Linked DNA regions of Homo sapiens: region 2 is linked to region 1. The links are contacts of gene promoters, found by promoter capture Hi-C in blood cells and fetal thymus (Javierre and others, 2016). All regions are on one chromosome and are shown on one strand. Each heading gives the region's core, a stretch centred on a gene start or on the middle of the fragment in contact. The rest is flanking DNA. Distances are from core to core; before and after follow the strand shown. Region 1 holds the start of TIMM9 (translocase of inner mitochondrial membrane 9). Region 2 holds the start of MNAT1 (MNAT1 component of CDK activating kinase).

Region 1 (4,699 bases), core at 872-3,371:
AAAAAATTAGCCAGCGTGGTGGCAAGTGCTTGTAGTCCTAGCTACTCAGGAGGCTGAGACAGGAGGATTGCCTGAGCTCAGGAGTTGAAGGCTTCAGGGAGCTATGATCATGACAGAGCAAGGCCCTGTCTCTGGAAAAAAAAAAAAAAAGAGGGAAAGGAACTAAAGAGTAATGACAAAGAGCTGTAAGATCCAAATTAAGTTGTCATTTTAATAATTCAGAGTGCCTACACTCAGATCTTAGGTCACTGTTTCTTTCACATAAGTTTCACCTAGAAGGTAAGAGTTAAACTATCTCCAAGGTCTCTGGCGACTCTGACATTGTAGTTCTTTCAGTACACTCATAATATACAATAAATTGTGAACAAACAAGTACCACCTATGAGCCCAATTACGAAGAGAAAATGTAACTAAAATAAAAAATAATGGCCACGTGCGGTGGCTCACGCTTGTAATACTAGCACTTTGGTAGGCCGAGGCGGGTGAATCAAGTCAGGAGTTCGAGACCAACCTGGCCAACATGGTGAAACCCCGTCTCTAATAAAAATACAAAAAAAATTAGCTGGGCGTGGTGGCGGGCGCCTGTAATCCAGCTACTCAGGAGGCCTGAGGCAGAAGAATCGCTTGAACCTGGGAGGCGGAGGTTGCAGTGAGCCAAGATCGCGCCACTGCACTCCAGCCTGTGCCACAGAGTGAGACTTTGTCTCAAAAAACAACACAAAACTCATTAGAGAAACTCAGCAAGTTACAAAAAAATAATAATTAAAAGGGTCTTTAACGCTGAGCCCTTAAAGTCTTTTTTTTTCTTTTTTTTTTAAGACAGTCTTGATCTGTCACTCAGGCTGGAGCACAATGGCGCGATCTCAGCTCACTGCAACCTCCACCTGCCGGGTTCAAGCAATTCTCTTGCCTCAGCCTCCTGAGTAGCTGGGACTACAGGCGCGCGCCACCATGCCCAGTTAATTTTTTGTATTTTCAGTAGAGGCGGGGTTTCACCTTGCTGGCCAGGCTGGTCTCGAACTCCTGATCTCGTGATCCGCCCGCCTTGGCCTCCCAAAGTGCTGGGATTACAGGCGTGAGCCACCGCGCTCAGACTTTAAAGTCCATTTTAAGTCTAGACTTCTATGAAGGTAGACTGCCGAGATGTAAAAGAAATAAAATTAGTTATTTAGCTTTTAGATCGGATTACATTTTCTGCTTTGATTATTCTAAAGCCTCCAGTAAGGCGTAAAGGGAAAGCTCTAAGTAGCGCATCCTGGGAAATGAGCAGATCAGGGAAGGGGTGTTAGACCTGGTATTATGTCTAAAGACGATTTTCATTTAAAGGAGGATCTTCCCCCGGGCAGCTCAAGGTCACATCGTAAATACCTTATAGTCTAATTCAGTGTCCCAAAACAGGACCCCGACTCCCCAGATCCGGGTTGGGGGTGGCTCAGGGCCTAAAGTTCCTACCCTCGCCCAGGTGACACCATCTCCAGGAAGGTCTGCACCCGACCCGGCGAAGCGCTGTCCCGCTTCGCACCCCCCACTGCTCCAGGTACGTGCGGCGGCCTCCTCGGGAGACCCCGCCACTTTCCTGGAGCGTAGCCTGCCACCCCCCGTCCGGGAACCCCGGATTCTCACGGCAGAGAACAGACACCATACTTAAGCACAGGCTCTCGCATCCGACATCAGTACAAGGCTGGGGGTTGTTGGGGGACGGTTGAGCCTTGGGAGGGAGGGTCAGGGTCTGGACAGGAGCCGCGGCCGCCAGATGGGAAAGAACACGTGGGAGCAGTAATGTCAAGTGACACTTAAACCCTTAGACGCCGATTCGTTATAACGCGAGGAAATCTAGAAGAAAAAGCAGGTACCATCAGCGAATTCTAAAATCTCCTAAGGATTAACTTCGGTTATTTTCTGCTTAGACAACGCTTTCTATTCCCGACTTCCTCTCCAATAATGACCCGAATCTGTCGAAACTTCTTGGAAGCCTAATTTACCTAATCCCACGTCCCTAACGGTCTTCGGAAGCGAAGCAGTGTCAACAGTCCCTGGTAAACACAAGTAGTATTACAAGTCGGGAGCTCTTCAAGTCTTGGATGAGACTGTAGAGCGGTCTTGTGCGGCAATGTGCTACCTTAAAATAAATAAATAAATAAACCCCTGTTATGTCCGGAGTTTGTTTCCACCCGGAGAGGAATGGAAGAGCACCAGAGAGCGCTTAGCTTTCTGGTTGGATGTTTTGGGTGAGTTTCTTGGCGCGCATGCGTGTTGTGTCTCAAGGGCGGGTTTGAAGGGAAGTGGGTGTTGACCTGCGGGCAACTGACGCTGTTGTCAGATTACACCCACGACGGTGCGGGTCTCGGGCGTTCTGGAGATACGTAGGGGTGAATTTATGTTTCCGACGATTGCATCTGGAGGGGTGTGTAAGACTCTGTGGCTGAAGAAAGCTATTACGCTTCTTATGTGGGTCATTATTTTAAAAATAGCATTTCGCTTTTATTTGCTTGACTGCCTCTTCTCAACAAATTTTAAGCCCGCCACTACATGTGTTTGGTTTTGCCCTACCAGCTCTGGGGTTGGGGAGTGCACTGTTATGGTTATTGTTGCTCCTGTGGCCATTCTCTTGTCATCCCCACTTTCACATTTTGGCGTGGTGTATTAATAGACTGAGTGGGATTAATGGGTAAATATGACTTTATAGTCAGCTCTAATCCTGGATTCAATATCAGAATTTAGATTTTCAGCTTTGTGGATGTTCGACATTTTAAAAACAGTTATTGCAAAGAGGTGAAAATTTTGTTCTGAAGTCTTAAGGAAACAGAGAAAGTTTTTCCGTCCTTAAGTGTGGGACTTGTTTTGTGACCAACAATATGAAAGGCTCTGAGGTCAGCTTGGAGAAGAAAAAAAAGATTAAGATGCCAGTGAAGAGACTTCGTGAGGTAGTTTCTCAAAATCATGGAGATCATTTGGTTTTGCTGAAAGATGAGTTGCCCTGTGTTCCTCCGGCATTGTCTGCAAATAAACGTCTTCCTGTTGGAACGGGGACTAGTTTGAATGGAACATCACGTGGTATGTGATTCCATGTAGTTTTTCAACCAGTTTTAGTTTAGTAAATCTTTAGTCCTTATTTGTTTAAATTCCCAAACGTAAGATATAAGTCTAGTTTGTACAGATGTTTGAAAACTGACCCTGTTTCCCGGGAAAATGGCCAGGAAGCCTATAAAATGTTTGAATAGATGGAATGAATGAAACTTTAACGTCCCCTGTTGTGCTTTTTTTTTTTTTTTTTGCATTGACTTTTGCATATTTTTTTTTTTATATTTATGGTGGATACACTTAACTTGTATAATGTGCTTTATTTTCCCCCACGTAGTGTTTTTTATAGTTTTCCCCCAAAGTAGTGCTTTTTACCTAATTCACTACTTTCTTTTCATAGTGGGAAAAGCAGGACTTCTGCCAATTGATGGCTTCTATATTCCAATTCACTTAATCTGTCTAGAGCTCAGTGAAAATAAGGATAACATATGCTTTACCCACTTCGCTGCTAATTGTGAGGATTAAATTAATGAATATGTGAGCAAAAACAGCAAAACGCTTTTGTAATGCTGTTCTTTGGGGGATACAGCGGTGACACTCAAATAGTACTGCTGTTAAATTAGACCTTTACATCGTATACATATTTCTACCCATAGTTTGTCCACATCCAATAGTGTATGGTTATATTTTAAAATGTTTCGTGCTTAATCTCACTTTATTGTCAGTACCGAACCTTATTTTCCCAAATATCAACTGTAAAAACTTTCATTCAGATATGTTTAAATACATTTTCTTAACTTTTTTTGCATGCAAATTGTCTTTCCAACTTCTGCGTTATATGGAGTTTATAGATCTTGAATCATGCATATACAGTTTCTAAAGCTAAGGATCTGATTTTAAAATCACTAAAATCTATTCCTTTGTTTTGTTAGGTTCATCAGACTTAACTTCTGCTAGAAATTGTTACCAGCCTCTATTAGAAAATCCCATGGTGTCAGAAAGTGTAAGCAAAAGGATTCTTAATTATGCTCACGTTAAAATTTTCAGTATTGTCAAATAATGCATTCTTAAATTATGTTTGATTAGCAGCATGCCTTGTTTTTATTTAAATATCACTTACCAAAACAAATGTTTTATATACTACAATTGTGACTTTGAATGGTGTTTGAGACATTAAACAAAAGGCCTTCCCTAGAATCAAAAATACCTATTAGTAAGATAATGGCCGCTGAAAGAGATAGGATAACTGAAAAGAAACTCTCTTACTATTCAGGGAAAAGGTGTTCTTGCCCAGAGACTTAACATGTTCTTAGGTAAAAGAAAAGGAACAACTAACAGTACAATTTTTCTTTAATGTGAGGTGTGCTTGCATGTCATTCTAACACTTGTGAGAATGGTTTTGGTTTTCTTAGAAGGGAGGTTCTTTAAGAATAACATGAAATTATCATCTTAACTTTATAATGCCGAAAGTATTTGATAAATACAATGTTTTGGTTATGAGATCTAATCAGACTTTGACGGCTAATCATAGTGTTGACCTATGTATTGTCAGTTTAATAAGTCTGTATAATGAGAGTTTCACAATATGCTATTTTGAAAATTGAAGCTGGCAAACTAATAATTCAATTGAGACTATATGACAATTTTGTCAAAAGCTCACAATAAAATGTATAATTAT
Region 2 (4,659 bases), core at 349-2,848, 2.3 Mb after region 1:
TGAGCCCAGGAGTTCAAGGCTGCAATGAATTGTGATCGGGCCACTGCACTCTAGCCTGGGCAACAGAAGGAGATCCTGTTTCAAAACAAACAAACAAACACACAAAAATTGTCCTAGTGGCAATAAACTATAATGCCATCTGAGTGGATGACCTCAATGTAGTATTGGCTAAAAATTTTATTTGCACATATGACATATTCATTCTTTCACCAGAAGTTTCTTGTATGTTATCAGCTGAGCTTACATGACTATGCAGTTATAAAGAAGTATAAAGCACAGGCTATTAAATGGTCCAAAATATAAAGTACTAGAGTTGCCTTTGTTCTTGAAGAGCTTCACTCTGAATCATGTAACTGGTCTGGATGTGGTCTTTCAATAAGACAATAGCAGCAGCATAATAAGCCTCCGGGTCAGCATAGTAGCATAGTATTTGGTGTTACCTATTTTAGTAAGTTTATGTTTGGTTAACTCCTGTTGAGGAACAATATTATGATCAAAGAGATGATATGGTTTATTTATTAGATGAATCCTTGATGTCTTCATACTAATGTAAAGCTCTGTCACAGCCTGCTTTGATCTGCTGGTTCCTGGGTGTGGTATCCAGCTGTTTGTCAGCATCCCTCTCTATACCCATGGAAATCCCAACTGTATTTTTGGGTTTTGGGTTCCCTACCAGGTTCACTGTTTAAAAATGTGAATTGAATATTACTTTTTATTGAAAAGAACACAAGTTCTATGATGAGTTAAAATTACTATAAATGTTTATAGCTTATACTCATTGTATCAGATTATTTGAAAAATCTAGTTTGCATGTTCCCTTCTGATGGAGTTTGGGTCAGATGAAGGTGGTTACAAAAAATGTTTGACACTAAAAATTTTCACATTACACTATTGTTTGATAGTCATTCATTAATTCTTCACTTAGTCTACTTACTCATTAAGAATCAACAAATCTTTATTTTGGAGATGAATAAGATGTGTCCTTTACAGTGGGAAAGCTTATTATTTAATAGAGCTGTTTACAGACTTCAATTTGCCTTCTTGATAAATGTGATGAACATGGTTTACAATTTACAAAGATATTCAGGCTATCAGATCTTGGAATTGCAGAACTAAATTTTTCTGTATGTATTCTTATATGATTTTTTCCTAGGTATTTGGGGAAATAAATACTGTCTGATGGAGTAGATAGCTTTTTCATATTTTGTATCTGCGAATGCATATTATCAGCTGAGCTGACATGACTATGCAATTATAAAGAAGTATAAAGCACAGGCTATTAAATGGTCCAAAAGAAAGTAAGTACACCGCTCATAAATCTTTGAAATCATGGGAATGTTTCCAGACAGAACAAGATGGAATTTATCTTCCTAATTGTGACACAGTACCTTGAAAAATGCAACTGGGTGCGTGGAGATAAGGCTTTGTATAATTTGCCATTTTAAAAGTTCCCCTGTCAAATTCAAGGTATTAAGTTGCTTTATGGAAGGCTAAGACCAAGCCCTAGATGCAAGACCGGGGGAACTGACTGCCGGAACGTTTGTGTTGCAGCGCCTCGCCCCTTGCCGGTGCTCTTTCGCGAAGGGACCGTCTCTGCCAAGCGCCTGTTGGTAGGAACCTGCTTGGTCGCGTCTGAGGGGGCTTGTAGGTGGCTCTGGCTGAAACAGGCGCCTGCGAGAGTCTGTAGGAGGGAAACCGCCATGGACGATCAGGGTTGCCCTCGGTGTAAGACCACCAAATATCGGAACCCCTCCTTGAAGCTGATGGTGAATGTGTGCGGACACACTCTGTGAGTTGGGCGGCAGTGGATTCCCTGGGGGAGAGACGCGCTGGGTGGGAGGAGAGGACCGGGAGATGCTAGGCCTCGTCTTGGGAGCAAAGGGCGTTGTTAGTTTCAACACTGGGGAGGAAAATGGGAAAAGAAGGCGTTGTGACTTTAAATAGACTGTAGCCGCTAGCCCCGAGCGGCTCTGGCCTGCTTTGAACTGCGGGTTCTCAGTGTGGCATCCAGCAGTTTGTCAGGTTCCCCCTTCCATAGCCAATGAGTATCCCGACTGTATTTCCAGGCTTTGTGTTGTTTACTGGGCTCTGGACATCGCTGATTAAAAGCGTGGGGGATTGGAGTGTTTATTTCATATGAAATGTTTTTATTGAAAAAGTGCGAAAGTGCTATGAAAACTTAAAATTTGCTTGAGTATATACTGCTGCTATTTATTGTATGAGTTAATTAAAAAACCCTGTGTGTATGCCCACTTGTCCTGATGGAGTTCGGTTAGACTCCCATCACTAAAATGAAGAAAACCCGGACTGTAGGTAGTTAATTTTGAAGATATAATAATGGCTGGCATTTGAGTGCACATTTTGTGCCAGACAGTGTTCTAAGCGCCTTACCATGAATTATCTCAGTTCATTCCTACAACAGTCCCATGAAGTAGATACTGGTATTTCCATTTCACAGGGAAGGAAATCGAGACTGCTCAAGGTCCCTTATTAAGTGGGCCTTGAGAGAATTGGAACCCAGGAAGTCTGACTTTAGAACGCCCATTTTCAGGGGAAGGGGGCAGAAGGAGGGAGGTTGAGTTTGTGTATTTTGAAACAGGGATTGGTCAAAGTGTTTCTTGCCAGATTTCTTGTCAGATGTGGTTTAGTGAAGGTGGTTCTAGAAAGCACTTTGAGATAAAAAGGTGCCATGTAATGGCGAGCATATATTCCTGTAGTTTCTTTCAGGTTTATTGGAGGCAAAAAATAATGGATAATCTACAGTGTGTAGACAAGGTCTCCTCCCAACCCCCCAAGTGCTGACAAAAATGTAGAGCAATGACAGGGTCTTTAGGTAAGCATAAATTGCATGATTAGCTGTAGCTATAATTATTATATGGAATTTATTAGCTTACTTAACTTTTCTAATTGATCTTTATTTTCCTTTGCTTTACTCTGCAAAGAAGTATAGTAGAGCTGTGATTGAATGATTTAAGATTAGAAGTAAGGTAAAAGTAATCAAGAAGAATGCATGGAAAAGGGAATTCTACATGGAAAAACACTGTAGATAGACTGTTTTTAGAGAGATTTCGTTCAATTTCTCTCCATTTTTCTTTATCAGGTTTGTTATGGTGGAACAGGAAAGAGAGTTTGTTTTTTTTTTTGGGAAGGATACTAACTAAATGTAATTTACCAGAAGGATGCTAAATGTAATTTTCTGGCCTAGCAGCACTTAGCCATTCAGGGAAGATTATACGATTTCAGTAACATAAATGGCATTTTAATTGGGCAAGTATAAAATATTTATTTTAATTGAAATTGCTTTTGTTGTATCCTCAGCCCTTTTTGTTAAGATCTAAGAGTTAAGACTTTTGTCTAATTCATTCTGGTGTTGCATTTAATGTGGTTAATTTGCTAACCTGTTAGATAACAGGCTACATTTTACAGTCCTTTTTTGACTTGAAATGTGAACAAAATGAGTGAAAAGCTGTAGCGTATTGGCTGAGAGAACAAGCTTTGGAATGAGCCTGTCTGATTTCACATTCTTTACTCTTACCGGCTCTGTGGCCTTAGGGAAATGACTAACTCTTTGTTAGCCGTTCTTCTTGTTGGTACAATAGAGAAAATAGTGCTGCTTGTATCACGGTCCTTAAGTATTAAATAATATATGGAAAATATTTAGAGATATTTAGTATTCTGTCACATAATATTTGTTTACTATATATTGGCTATTTTATTATTATTATTCTTTGTGTGGCATGGGTGATAAGCAGAAATAAAATTAAAACAGGACTTATTTGGCCTGCTATGAAATACTTGCACAATAATGATTAGCTTTAAATGATTTCAGTACACTATGAAATGTGAAAATACAGCTTTAATTATAAGGACTCTGTTGTAATTTTCTTAATATGAACTCTTTAGCATGTTGTCTAATTAATCATCCTTTTAAAGAAGTACTTTAATCTAGGCTAACACACTGCTGTTTCTGAATGGAGGAGAGAACTCACTGATTTTTTTGGCAATCATTTAAAAAATTTAAAATTATATAAGCTATTAATAATAAAAGCAACGTAAGTTATTAAGTGAAAGGTAAAAATTTCTGTGGTTCACTTCTCCAGAGGTGACAACTTTTAGGTTGTTTGTGTATATTTTCGGATATTTTCTATGCATATACAAACATGGGTGTGTTTGGGTAGAAAACTTTTTCTTCCTTTAGCATAAACAGGAATATAGCATAAACATATATATATGTGTGTATATATATATATTTCCTTGCTTTTTTCATTATGTATATTGGATAATCTCTCTAGATCAATATGCATATGTTTTCCTCTTTTAACAATTTGATAGTAGTCCATTGTTCAAATATAATTTATTTACCCCAATTTTTAAAATTAATATTTAATTATCCAGTTTTTCCTTGGAGTAAGCATCCATAAATATGCATATATATGTACATATATGTCTTTGAGCATTTAGGCCAGTATATCATAAGATATAACAGGTAAAAATCACAAGGTAATGTCCAGTAGTAGAATTGTTGGGTCAGAGTTTGTGGCTTTTAAATTTGATAAATATGGCCCAGTTGTTCTCAAAAAAGATTATGTCAAGACAGGCATGGTTGTTCCTACCTGTAATCCTAGCTACTTGGGAGGCTGAGGAGGGAGGGTTCGAGAC

The links. Contacts are between HindIII fragments. The CHiCAGO score rates a contact against its expected background, and 5 or more counts as called.
Region 2: the fragment with the promoter of MNAT1 here is called in contact with the fragment with the promoter of TIMM9 in region 1 in 2 of 17 cell types (naive CD8 T cells and naive CD4 T cells); the score reaches 5.5 in naive CD8 T cells.

Annotation. Positions count from the first base shown.
Region 1 is chr14:58,425,410-58,430,108 of GRCh38, forward strand. TIMM9 (translocase of inner mitochondrial membrane 9) reads right to left here and starts at 2,122. Exons shown (of 6, transcript NM_012460.4): 1 at 1,983-2,122; 2 at 1,645-1,833. It overlaps KIAA0586, which reads left to right and starts at 2,310. Exons shown (of 31, transcript NM_001329943.3): 1 at 2,310-3,054; 2 at 3,954-4,024. The coding sequence starts at 2,856. RefSeq lists enhancers at 314-1,257, 2,272-2,321, 2,392-2,581. The HindIII fragment of the contact is 11,466 bases long and covers 1-4,699 here.
Region 2 is chr14:60,733,163-60,737,821 of GRCh38, forward strand. MNAT1 (MNAT1 component of CDK activating kinase) reads left to right here and starts at 1,599. Exons shown (of 8, transcript NM_002431.4): 1 at 1,599-1,789. The coding sequence starts at 1,701. RefSeq lists enhancers at 1,613-1,712, 1,823-1,892. The HindIII fragment of the contact is 2,495 bases long and covers 997-3,491 here.